Regions from separate parts of the Homo sapiens genome. Here region 1 is linked to region 2. The links are contacts of gene promoters, found by promoter capture Hi-C in blood cells and fetal thymus (Javierre and others, 2016). All regions are on one chromosome and are shown on one strand. The core of a region is centred on a gene start or on the middle of the fragment in contact, and the rest is flanking DNA. Distances in the headings are between cores, read along the strand shown.

Region 1 (4,746 bases), core at 347-2,846, 590 kb after region 2:
CTGGGACATGGGGGTGTGGGTAAAGACAGGGATGAAGGATAGAGGCTGAGAGAAGAAGGAAGAATCAGCCCAGCAGGTATGGGCATCTGGGAAACCTCCAGCCTCAAGTGTGTTAGTAACATGAAAAAGCTTTGGGGGGTAGTTGGATCTGGGTGTCTGGTCCATTGCTGGCAGTGGACATTATTCTTGCCCTAAGAGACACTGCCTTTTCAGCAGCAGATACTGGTGAGATGGGGGTGGCTCAGGCTGTTCTTCCTCCTCCTAGAATGTCTGGAGCTGTTTCTACATTCAGATAACTGGGTCCCCTATCACAAGGCTACTGGCTAATAGGAATTCCCTCCTGGTGCCACCACTGGCCAGTACCTTTCCTAAGTCTTTGCTCAAATTAACCAGGTTGTGAGCCAGTGGCTTGAGTGAATGTTAGGCCTTGGGGGCTGAGTCTCTGAAAAGTCTAAGAAGCTCTGCCTAGACCAAATATGGTATACCTCCTGACCCCTCTCTCCCTCATGTCCTGGGATTCTGGGGAAGAGACCTAGAAACAAGCTTTCAAAGAAAAACCAGAAGTTGTCATAAATGGTCAGAAAGAACGATCAGGTTGGAGACTTGGGAAACCCAGGGCCTAAAGAGAAGTATCCATGAGGGTCAAACTTCCTGTTGAACTTCCTATGTTCTTTCTCAAGTGCTCAGGGATCTAAGTTAGTGGACAGCAAGCCTGTGGCTACGGGGTGGTGATGTTCCTCTTCCAGCTGTCCCCTCAGCTAAGGGGCTTAGTTTCCATGTGGGATGCCATCACTTGGTTCATGCTCATTCACACAAAGGGCACGTGTCTCAGCCTGGTATCAGGGAAATTGAGACTTATTTTTGCCCTAAAACGTCTCCCTAGCTGTTCTTCGTGGGGTTTTTTTGTTTGTTTTTTTGCCTAATTTGCTTTTTCTGACCAAGCCTTGTGGCACCAGCAATCTCCAAAGTCCTGTGGTGGGAGGGCTGAATAAATAAAAATACAAAGAGGTGGGTAAGGAGTAGGAAGGTAGAGAGCACCACTGATGAGGCCCTCCTAGCCCATGGCAGACCCAGACCTCTTCTCCCCCAGGAATTAGAAGTGGCAGGAGAGAACAACAGGGGCTGGGAATGGAGGGGAGAATTTCTAGGGGAAGTTTCCTGAGTTGAAACTTCTCCTGTGGTTACTGGTATTGAGAAATCAGCTACCAAAGTGAAAAAGGACAAGATCAATTCTTTTCTAGTCAGTTCTAAGACTGCTAGAGAGAGATACCAGGCCCTTAGCCTTGCTCTCAGTAGCGTCAGCCCCAGTTCTGAGCCTCCCCACATTACACTTAACAAGCAGTAAAGGAGTGAGCACTTTGGGTCCTTAGACTCACGTCTGGGGAGGAAGAGCAAGTAGAAAAGTGGCATTTTCTTGATTGGAAAGGGGGAAGGATCTTATTGCACTTGGGCTGTTCAGAATGTAGAAAGGACATATTTGAGGAAGTATCTATTTGAGCACTGATTTACTCTGTAAAAAGCAAAATCTCTCTGTCCTAAACTAATGGAAGCGATTCTCCCATGCTCATGTGTAATGGTTTTAACGTTACTCACTGGAGAGATTGGACTTTCTGGAGTTATTTAACCACTATGTTCAGTATTTTAGGACTTTATGATAATTTAATATAAATTTAGCTTTTCTTAATCACCTTGCCTGGCTTGGAGTCATGACTAATCCTGCACCTGCTCTGTCTGGCAGACCCATGCTGTGGAAAACCTGCTTACAGACATCACTTTTAAGTCCTTTGTGGATGTGGGCACAGTGAAGAGCAATAAAGAGTGTGAGGTTCCTGCTGGAGTTTTCAGCTCATCTGGAGAAGACAGGTCGAGGCCAGAGTTCCTTGACTGATGAAACCTTTATTTCCTCTGGAAGAGGAATGGTAGATGGGTTTCCTCTTGAGTGCTGACTCTGACTGGTTGGTAGTGGCTGCCTGAGGGCCTATTCGCACCCAATGGGAAGAATGTCATATGGCTAGTGACATCTCTTCTGTGCACTGGAAGGAAATGTCATGGCATGTATACCATGTATCTTCTATTTCTGTTCTAGGTCTTTGTTACAGAACTTTACTTTGCCTTGCAGTGATGGTCACTGGCAAGACTATCTCATGTAGTAAGAAAAGTACTGGAGCTGGGGACATGGAGGGCTAATTCCAGTCCCAGATCTGCCACTAGCTCTGTTTGATCTTAGTCAACTTTCATAGTTAGTCTGAGAGTGGATCAAATTATCACTAGGATTTCATTTATTTTTAAAAGCTGTCTTTTCATAGCTCATCCACTACTTCTCAAGGCTAGAACAAGGAGCTAGGGATCCCTTCTCAGGTTCTCTGGATGTGATATCCCTCAGTGAAAACTGGGAATCATGTTAATCTCAACGCCCGATGTAGAATTTCATGTCAAGTCTCAATAGTTGATTTTCTAAACCACACACCATCTATAGGATAATATCCCCATTCATTCATTCATTCATTCATTCATTCATCTGCTATGGGCTAGGCACTGCCCATGCCTAAACAAAGACATAATCTTACAGAGCTTAGAGTCTAGCAACACCATTACCACCACCATCCCAAAAAAAGACAAAAAATGAAAGTAAGAAAGACTGAAGCTTCTTGTATTTAAGTGACCAGAGATCTGAGTATAAGCTACAGTGTATAATTTTTCTAACTGTAGTAAGGAGTAGGTGTGCCAGAACAAAAACAAGTAGAATAGCCCAAGGATAACCATCCCTCCAACCCCCACTGTTCTCTTTGGGAGGGAAAAAAAAAGCAGAAAAGGAGGACATCTTGGGATAAAACAAAGGTTGGGAATTCCTTGTCTAGTTCTCTGGTATAAAATCTGAAACTAGGGTCAGGCACAGTGGCTACACCAAAGTAATCTCACCACTTTGGGAGGCCAAGACAGAAGTAAGGAGTATTGCTTGAGGCCTGGAGTTCACGATCAGCCTGGGCAACATGACAGGACCATATCTCTACAAAAAAATTTAAAAATATTAGTCAGGTGTGGTAGCTCATGCCTGTAGTCCCAGCTGCTTGGGAGGCTGAGGCAGGAGGATTGCTTGAGCCCAGGAGTTCAAGGTTACAGTGAGCTATGATCACGCCACTGCATTCCATCCTGGGTAACAGAGCAAAACCTTGTCACTAAAAAAACAAAACAAAAAAACCCTGAAACTGATAAGTGAGCAGATGGTGGGTCAAGTTCTAACAAACTGGCCATATTTTTGCAAACTCACTCAAAATACAGTCACGGTCTGTCTATGGTGTATGAACAAACTGTGGAATCTAAAATGAAAGGATCTCTGGCCCATAGAAAGGACTCTGGATAAACTGAAGCTGTCACCAAACGTAGGCCTAAATTCAATGCATAGGAACTCAGAGGCAGCATCTACAAAAGCTGAGGGTGCACAGGTTTCTAAGTGGGTTCTAAGAGGGTTCTAAGAGGACCCAGTAATGCACTGATATCCAAGGTTATCCAGGGTCTCGCTCTGTCGCCCAGGCTGGAGTGCAGTGGCACAATCTTCTGCCTCAGCCTCCCAAGTAGCTGGGACTACAGGCGCCCACTGCCACGCCCAGCTAATTTTTTGTATTTTTAGGAGAGACGGGGTTTCACCGTGGTCTCAATCTCCTGACCTTGTGATCCGCCCGCCTCAGCCTCCCAAAGTGCTGGGATTACAGGCGTGAGCCACCGCACCTGGCCCTAAGTTGTCTGGTTTCTATTTATGGACATAATGATAAAAGAAATGTGGCTGAGTCCTTTTTATGGCTACGAAACAGTCTGTAATATATCTTTTCTTCAAATGTGAAGTTGAGTCGACTGATTCACTTAATAGGATGTGTGTTTTGGGATGTTTTTAGGCACTCTTTGTTTTGAAACATTCCCTCATCTGCCTACTTATTTTCTCTCCACACCATTCTCCCGTTAACCAGCTGCAGAGGCTAGCAGAGCTCAGCATAGGGAATAAAGTTTGATGTCTAGTCAAAGCTCCAACTCATAACTTTGGTCTCCTTGACATGGTGTTAAAACAGACCCAGACAGCCTAATTAAGGGTCATAGTTTAAACCCAAGGCTAAGTTAGCCACAAGCTACACAATCTGCTTATTTCATTTTATAAGACACAAAGAGCCAAGAACTTTCACGTATCTTGCTCTTCCTGATGGTTTTCCCTCCAGGCCCTAAAAGCCTGTTGATAGTCTTCTAATGAGGTCCCTATCTCTCCCTTCTCCCTCCTTCCTCTTTGGTGGCGCTGATGCTTCTGTGGTCAAAGTTCTTGGACAGCCTACATTTTGGGGGCTATGGAAAATGAATATGAGAAAAGAAAAAATAAAGGCTATTCATTCCTTCATTCAACCAGCACCTACTAAATGCAATCAAGTGCAAGCCAGGGTAGGCTTTGCAATCCTGGAAGACAGTTAAGGCACTAAAACCCACAGCCACTTGAAATCTGTATTAATGTCACCACTGCTATCTCCAGGGAAATAATGCAGAGGGCACCTGCATTGAAAGTTGAAGGAAGCTCATCACTGAAGCTGCTCCTTTTAGGCTGGAAATATGGATACATATCCCATGGTAGGGATGCTTCAACCAGAATTCAGCTTGTGATTACAAAAGAATGAGCACTGTCTCAACCCTAACAGGCTTTTCAGAAATGCCCAGCACAGTTATTCAGCAGCCACAGTATTTGACATTTGTTTCCTGTTTTCAGTTGCAAAA
Region 2 (4,718 bases), core at 2,219-4,718:
TCAGCAAACAACCTCACTAATATAAAATTATAGAGAGGCTGGGCGTGGTGGCTCACGCCTGTAATCCCAGCACTTTGGGATGCCCAGGCCAGCGGATCACTTGAGCACAGGAGTTCAAAACCAGCCTGGCCAACATGGTGAAACCCCGTCTCTACTAAAAATATAAAAATTAGCTGGGCATGGTGGCATTGCCTGTAATGCCAGCTACTTGCGAGGGTTGAGGTGGGAGGGTGGCTTGAGCCCAGGAGGTCGAGGCCTCAGTGAGCCTAGATTGTACCACTGCACTCCAGCCTGGGCGACAAAGTGAGACCCTGTCTCAAAATAAAATTATAGAGATAAGTCCTGTATCAGAATGCAGTGTAATTCAATGAGAGGATAATATGCTGATTCATCCTAATTATGACTTACGAGGCAGAGTGTGGGTGTGGTGAACAGAGAAGGAATTAGGAGGTGCAAAGGCCCTGGGGCAGACAGGTAGGCAGGTACCAGAATGTAACAGTTGCCATATTACTCACACTTCTGCTCCAAGCATATACCTAAGAGAAATGAAAACATGTCCCCATAAAACCTAGTACATGAATTTTTTATTTTTTTGAAACAGGGTCTCGCTCTGTCACCCAGGCTGGAGTGTAGTGACATGATTGCGGCTCACTGCAGTCCAAGCTTGTAGGCTCAAGCGATTCTCCTGCCTCAGCCTCGCGAGTAGCTGGGACCACAGCTGTGCACCACCACACCCAGCTAATTTTTTTTTTTTTTTGTATTTTTTGTAGATATGGGGTCTCGCTATGTTTCCCAAGCTGGTCTCCAACTCCTGGGCTCAAGTGATCTGCCTGCTTCAGCCTCCTAGTGTGCTGGGATTACAGGCGTGAGCCACCGTGCCCAGCCCAATTTGTACATGAATTTTTATAGCATCATTATTCATAGTAGCCAAAAATGAAACAACCCAAATGCCTATTAACTGCTGAATCAACAAAATGTATATCCAGACAATGAGTATTAACCAACCACAATAAGTAATGAAGTTCTGATACGGTTGAAAACATAGTTGAATCTTGAAAACATTATGCCAAGTTAAAGAAGCCAGTCACAGATGACCACATATTGTATGATTCCATTCCTGTGAAGGGTCCACAATAGACAGGTCCATAGACACCAGGTGGCTTAAATAACAGAAATTTATTTTCTCACAGTTCTGGACGCTAGAAGTCCAAGATCAAGGAATTGGCAGAGTTGGTTTCATTCTAAGGCCTTGCTCCTGGGCTTGTAGATAGCCATCTTCTCCCTGTGTCTTCACGTGCTCTTCTTCTGTGTGACTGTGTCCTTTTTAAACATTTATTGTGGGCCAGGTGCGGGGGCTCACGCCTGTAATCCCAACACTTTGGGAGGCAGAGGTGGGCAGATCATGAAGTCAGGAGTTCCAGACCAGCCTGACCAACATGGTGAAACCCCGTCTCTACTAAAAATACAAAAATTAGCCAGGTGTGGTGGTGCGCAGCTGTAATCCCAGCTACTCAGGAGGCTGAGGCAGGAGAATCACTTGAACCTGGGAGGTGAAGGTTGCAGTGAGCCAAGATGGCACCACCACACTCCAGCCTGGGTGACAGAGGGAAAGTGTCTCAAAAAAAAAAAAAAGTATTGTGGTCAGGCATGGTGGCTCACGCCTATAACCCCAATACTTCGGGAGGCTCTGAGGCAGGTGGATCAACTGAGGTCAGAAGTTCAAGACCAGCCTGACCAACATGGTGAAACCCCGTCTCTACTAAATACAAAAACTTAGCCAGGCGTGGTGGCATACACCTGTCATCCCAGCTACTTGGGAGGCTGAGGCAGGAGAATTGCTTGAACCCGGGAGGTAGAAGTCTCAGTGAGCTGAGATTGTGCCACTGCACTCCAGCCTATGCAACAAGAGCAAAACTCCGTCTCAAAAATAATTTTTAAAAATAAAAATTTATTGTTTATTTATTTTTTGAGACAAGGTCTTGCTCTGGTGCTCAGGCTGGAGTGCAGTGGCACAATCACGGCTCACTGAAACCTCCACCTCCAGGAGTTCAAGACCAGCCTGGGCAACATGGTGAAACCCATCTCTACAAAAACTAGACAGCTGTGGTCTCAGCTACCCAGGAGACTGAGGTGGGAGGGTCACTTGAGCCTAGGAGGTAGAGGTTGCAGTGAGCTGTGACTGCACCACTGCACTCCAGCCTAGGTGACAGAGTGAGACCCTGTCTCAAAAAAAAGGGGGGGGGGATACCAGTCTTAACTGGATGAGGTACAATGTGACTTCATTTTACCTTAATCACCCTTTAAAGACCCTGTCTCCAAAGACAGTCACCTTATGAGATACTGAGTGTTAGGACTTAAACATATGCGTTTGGTTGCGGGGGGACATGATTCAGTCATATCAAGGTGGGGAATGGAGTGGTGTAACTGCTGATGGGTGTGCGTCTCCTTTTTGGGGTGGTTAAAATGTTCTGGAATTAGTGGCAATTAATGTGCATCTCTGTGAATATACTAAAAACCACTGAATTGCCCAGCCAGAAAGGATAAACTTTTGCCCTGGGGCAGGAAGAAGGCTGGCATGCAGAGAGAGGAGAAAGGGGGGCTGGATGAGCTGGCCTGCTAGCGGGGGCCCCAATACTACATAAGACCTTGCCCTTCTCCACAGTATCTGGTGTTAAATCTCATTATGAGGACCCTTTCAGCCCGGGGTTGGGATTGGAAGTGAGACATTGAAACTTCAAGGGCTGGGTTCTGGCCCGGGTGGGGATTTGCCATGGAGCAAAATAGCCTCTTGCAGCACATGCGGGGTTTCCTGTGCCGGGCACTGTCCTAAGTCCTTCTCAACTCTTTCGTCATTGAGTTCTCATAGCAGTCCAGTGAGCCAGGTACCATTCCTCTCTTCAGTCCACGGTGCCAGGTCACTTGGCTAGGGTCCCACTGAGAGTTCGAAGGAAGCCAGGCTAGAGCTCAGGCCTCTCACCAGCTGGAGGTCTTTCCCAGACTCTCTAAGGTGAGAGTTGGTGAATGGTGTCAGCCTGGGCCTGGATGAGTGACCCACGGTGCTCAGTGAATTTCAGGAACAGAGCCAGGGGATGCTGCGGTCAGGGGTGTCTTGATGGGGAAGAAGCAGGGCTGGGCGCTCACCTGGCTTCCCCGGACCTGCAGGTCCAGCCTCGCTCTCCTTCCCCCGAGCACCTCTAGCCCAAGGCCTGCCCACTTGCTGGAGCTGGCCCCTTGGCAAGGCTGCTGGGAGGGCCCGTGCTGCCAGGGCGGTCAGGGTCAGTGTCAGAGGTGCCTAAGGGACGCCCAAGGGGGTGCCCAGGTGGCAAGGTGCCTGTATGCTCAGGGAAGCCACGTCCCAGCTCGCGGGTGGGTGCAGCAGAGGCCCACGTGACCTTGCTGCTGACATTCCTCAGAGGCCATGTGGCCCCAACTGGCAGCGACAGCTGCAGACGGGCTGAACCAGCTTTGTTCCCAGGGTGGCGCCTGCTCTCCATCCAGGCCCCATTCCGGCTCCCACCCGACGCTGCTTTTGTTCCCACGTTTCGGGGGGCAGCTGGCACTGTGATTCCTGCCCCATGAGTGCCTAGAGGCACGGAGCCACCAGGGATCACCCCACGTGGGACACAGGGCTTGGGGAGGATGGGGCAGGACCAGACCAAGCAGCAGATCGAGAAGGGGCTCCAGCTGTACCAGTCCAACCAGACAGAGAAGGCATTGCAGGTGTGGACAAAGGTGCTGGAGAAGAGCTCGGACCTCATGGGGCGCTTCCGCGTGCTGGGCTGCCTGGTCACAGCCCACTCGGAGATGGGCCGCTACAAGGAGATGCTGAAGGTGGGTGTACCCGGCCTGGGGGCGTTCGAGGGTCAGGCTGGGGCCGGATGTCTCCCAGGCTCCCCAGTCCCCTCTCGGCCTCCTCGGGCTCCCCTGTGTCCCACAGGCTGGCAGCCAGGGCCCGAGGCTCTGAATTTATATCTAAGGCCCTGGGTCTTAGATACTGAGTCTTGGCATCAGATTCAGGCCTGTGGCCTTGAACTGTGGTGCCCGAGTCTCTGAGACTGAGGTTCTCCAGCCTCAGGGTCGAGGGTTTGTGGGTCTCAAGCCCATTGTAGGTTTCAGCCTTCCTGTCTGGTGTTCTGTGTCTGAGCCTGGCGGGGTGTGGGCTCCAGGGTTGCGGCTGGGGGTGGGTGGGTGGTGGAGACTCCAGATCTGAGGCTTGGGATAGAAGGTGAAGGCTGCAAGCCTGAGCTTGGGAGGTGAGGCTGGGGTGTAGGGAAGGTAGCTGAGGCTGGCGGGTAGAAGCTCTGGGTCTGAAAAGAAGCTTTGGGATCTGCTGCTTTGGGTGTGAGGCTGGGGGGTGGGTGTGGGGCCTCCAGGTCTGAGCCTGCAGTGCAGGCTGGGGTCCAAGGCTCAGAGTCCAGGCTGAGCACCACCTGCCCACCGTCGCTGTGTGCAGTTCGCTGTGGTCCAGATCGACACGGCCCGGGAGCTGGAGGATGCCGACTTCCTCCTGGAGAGCTACCTGAACCTGGCACGCAGCAACGAGAAGCTGTGCGAGTTTCACAAGACCATCTCCTACTGCAAGACCTGCCTTGGGCTGCCTGGTACCAGGGCAGGTGCCCAGCTCGGAGGCCAGGTCAGCCTGAGCATGGGCAATGCCTTCCTGGGCCTCAGCGTCTTCCAGAAGGCCCTGGAGAGCTTCGAGAAGGCCCTGCGCTATG

What was found. Contacts are between HindIII fragments. The CHiCAGO score rates a contact against its expected background, and 5 or more counts as called.
Region 1: a fragment that was not itself captured here is called in contact with the fragment with the promoter of RAPSN in region 2 in 1 of 17 cell types (naive B cells); the score reaches 5.1 in naive B cells.

Annotation. Positions count from the first base shown.
Region 1 is chr11:46,853,808-46,858,553 of GRCh38, reverse strand. LRP4 (LDL receptor related protein 4) reads left to right here. Exons shown (of 38, transcript NM_002334.4): 38 at 1-1,837. The region is part of intron 2 of LRP4-AS1 (LRP4 antisense RNA 1); the gene reads right to left. Among named protein-coding and RNA genes, the nearest start is that of LRP4-AS1, 9.8 kb to the right of the region's middle. The HindIII fragment of the contact is 2,101 bases long and covers 546-2,646 here.
Region 2 is chr11:47,447,886-47,452,603 of GRCh38, reverse strand. RAPSN (receptor associated protein of the synapse) reads left to right here and starts at 3,468. Exons shown (of 8, transcript NM_005055.5): 1 at 3,468-3,831; 2 at 4,454-4,718. The coding sequence starts at 3,640. The HindIII fragment of the contact is 3,655 bases long and covers 666-4,320 here.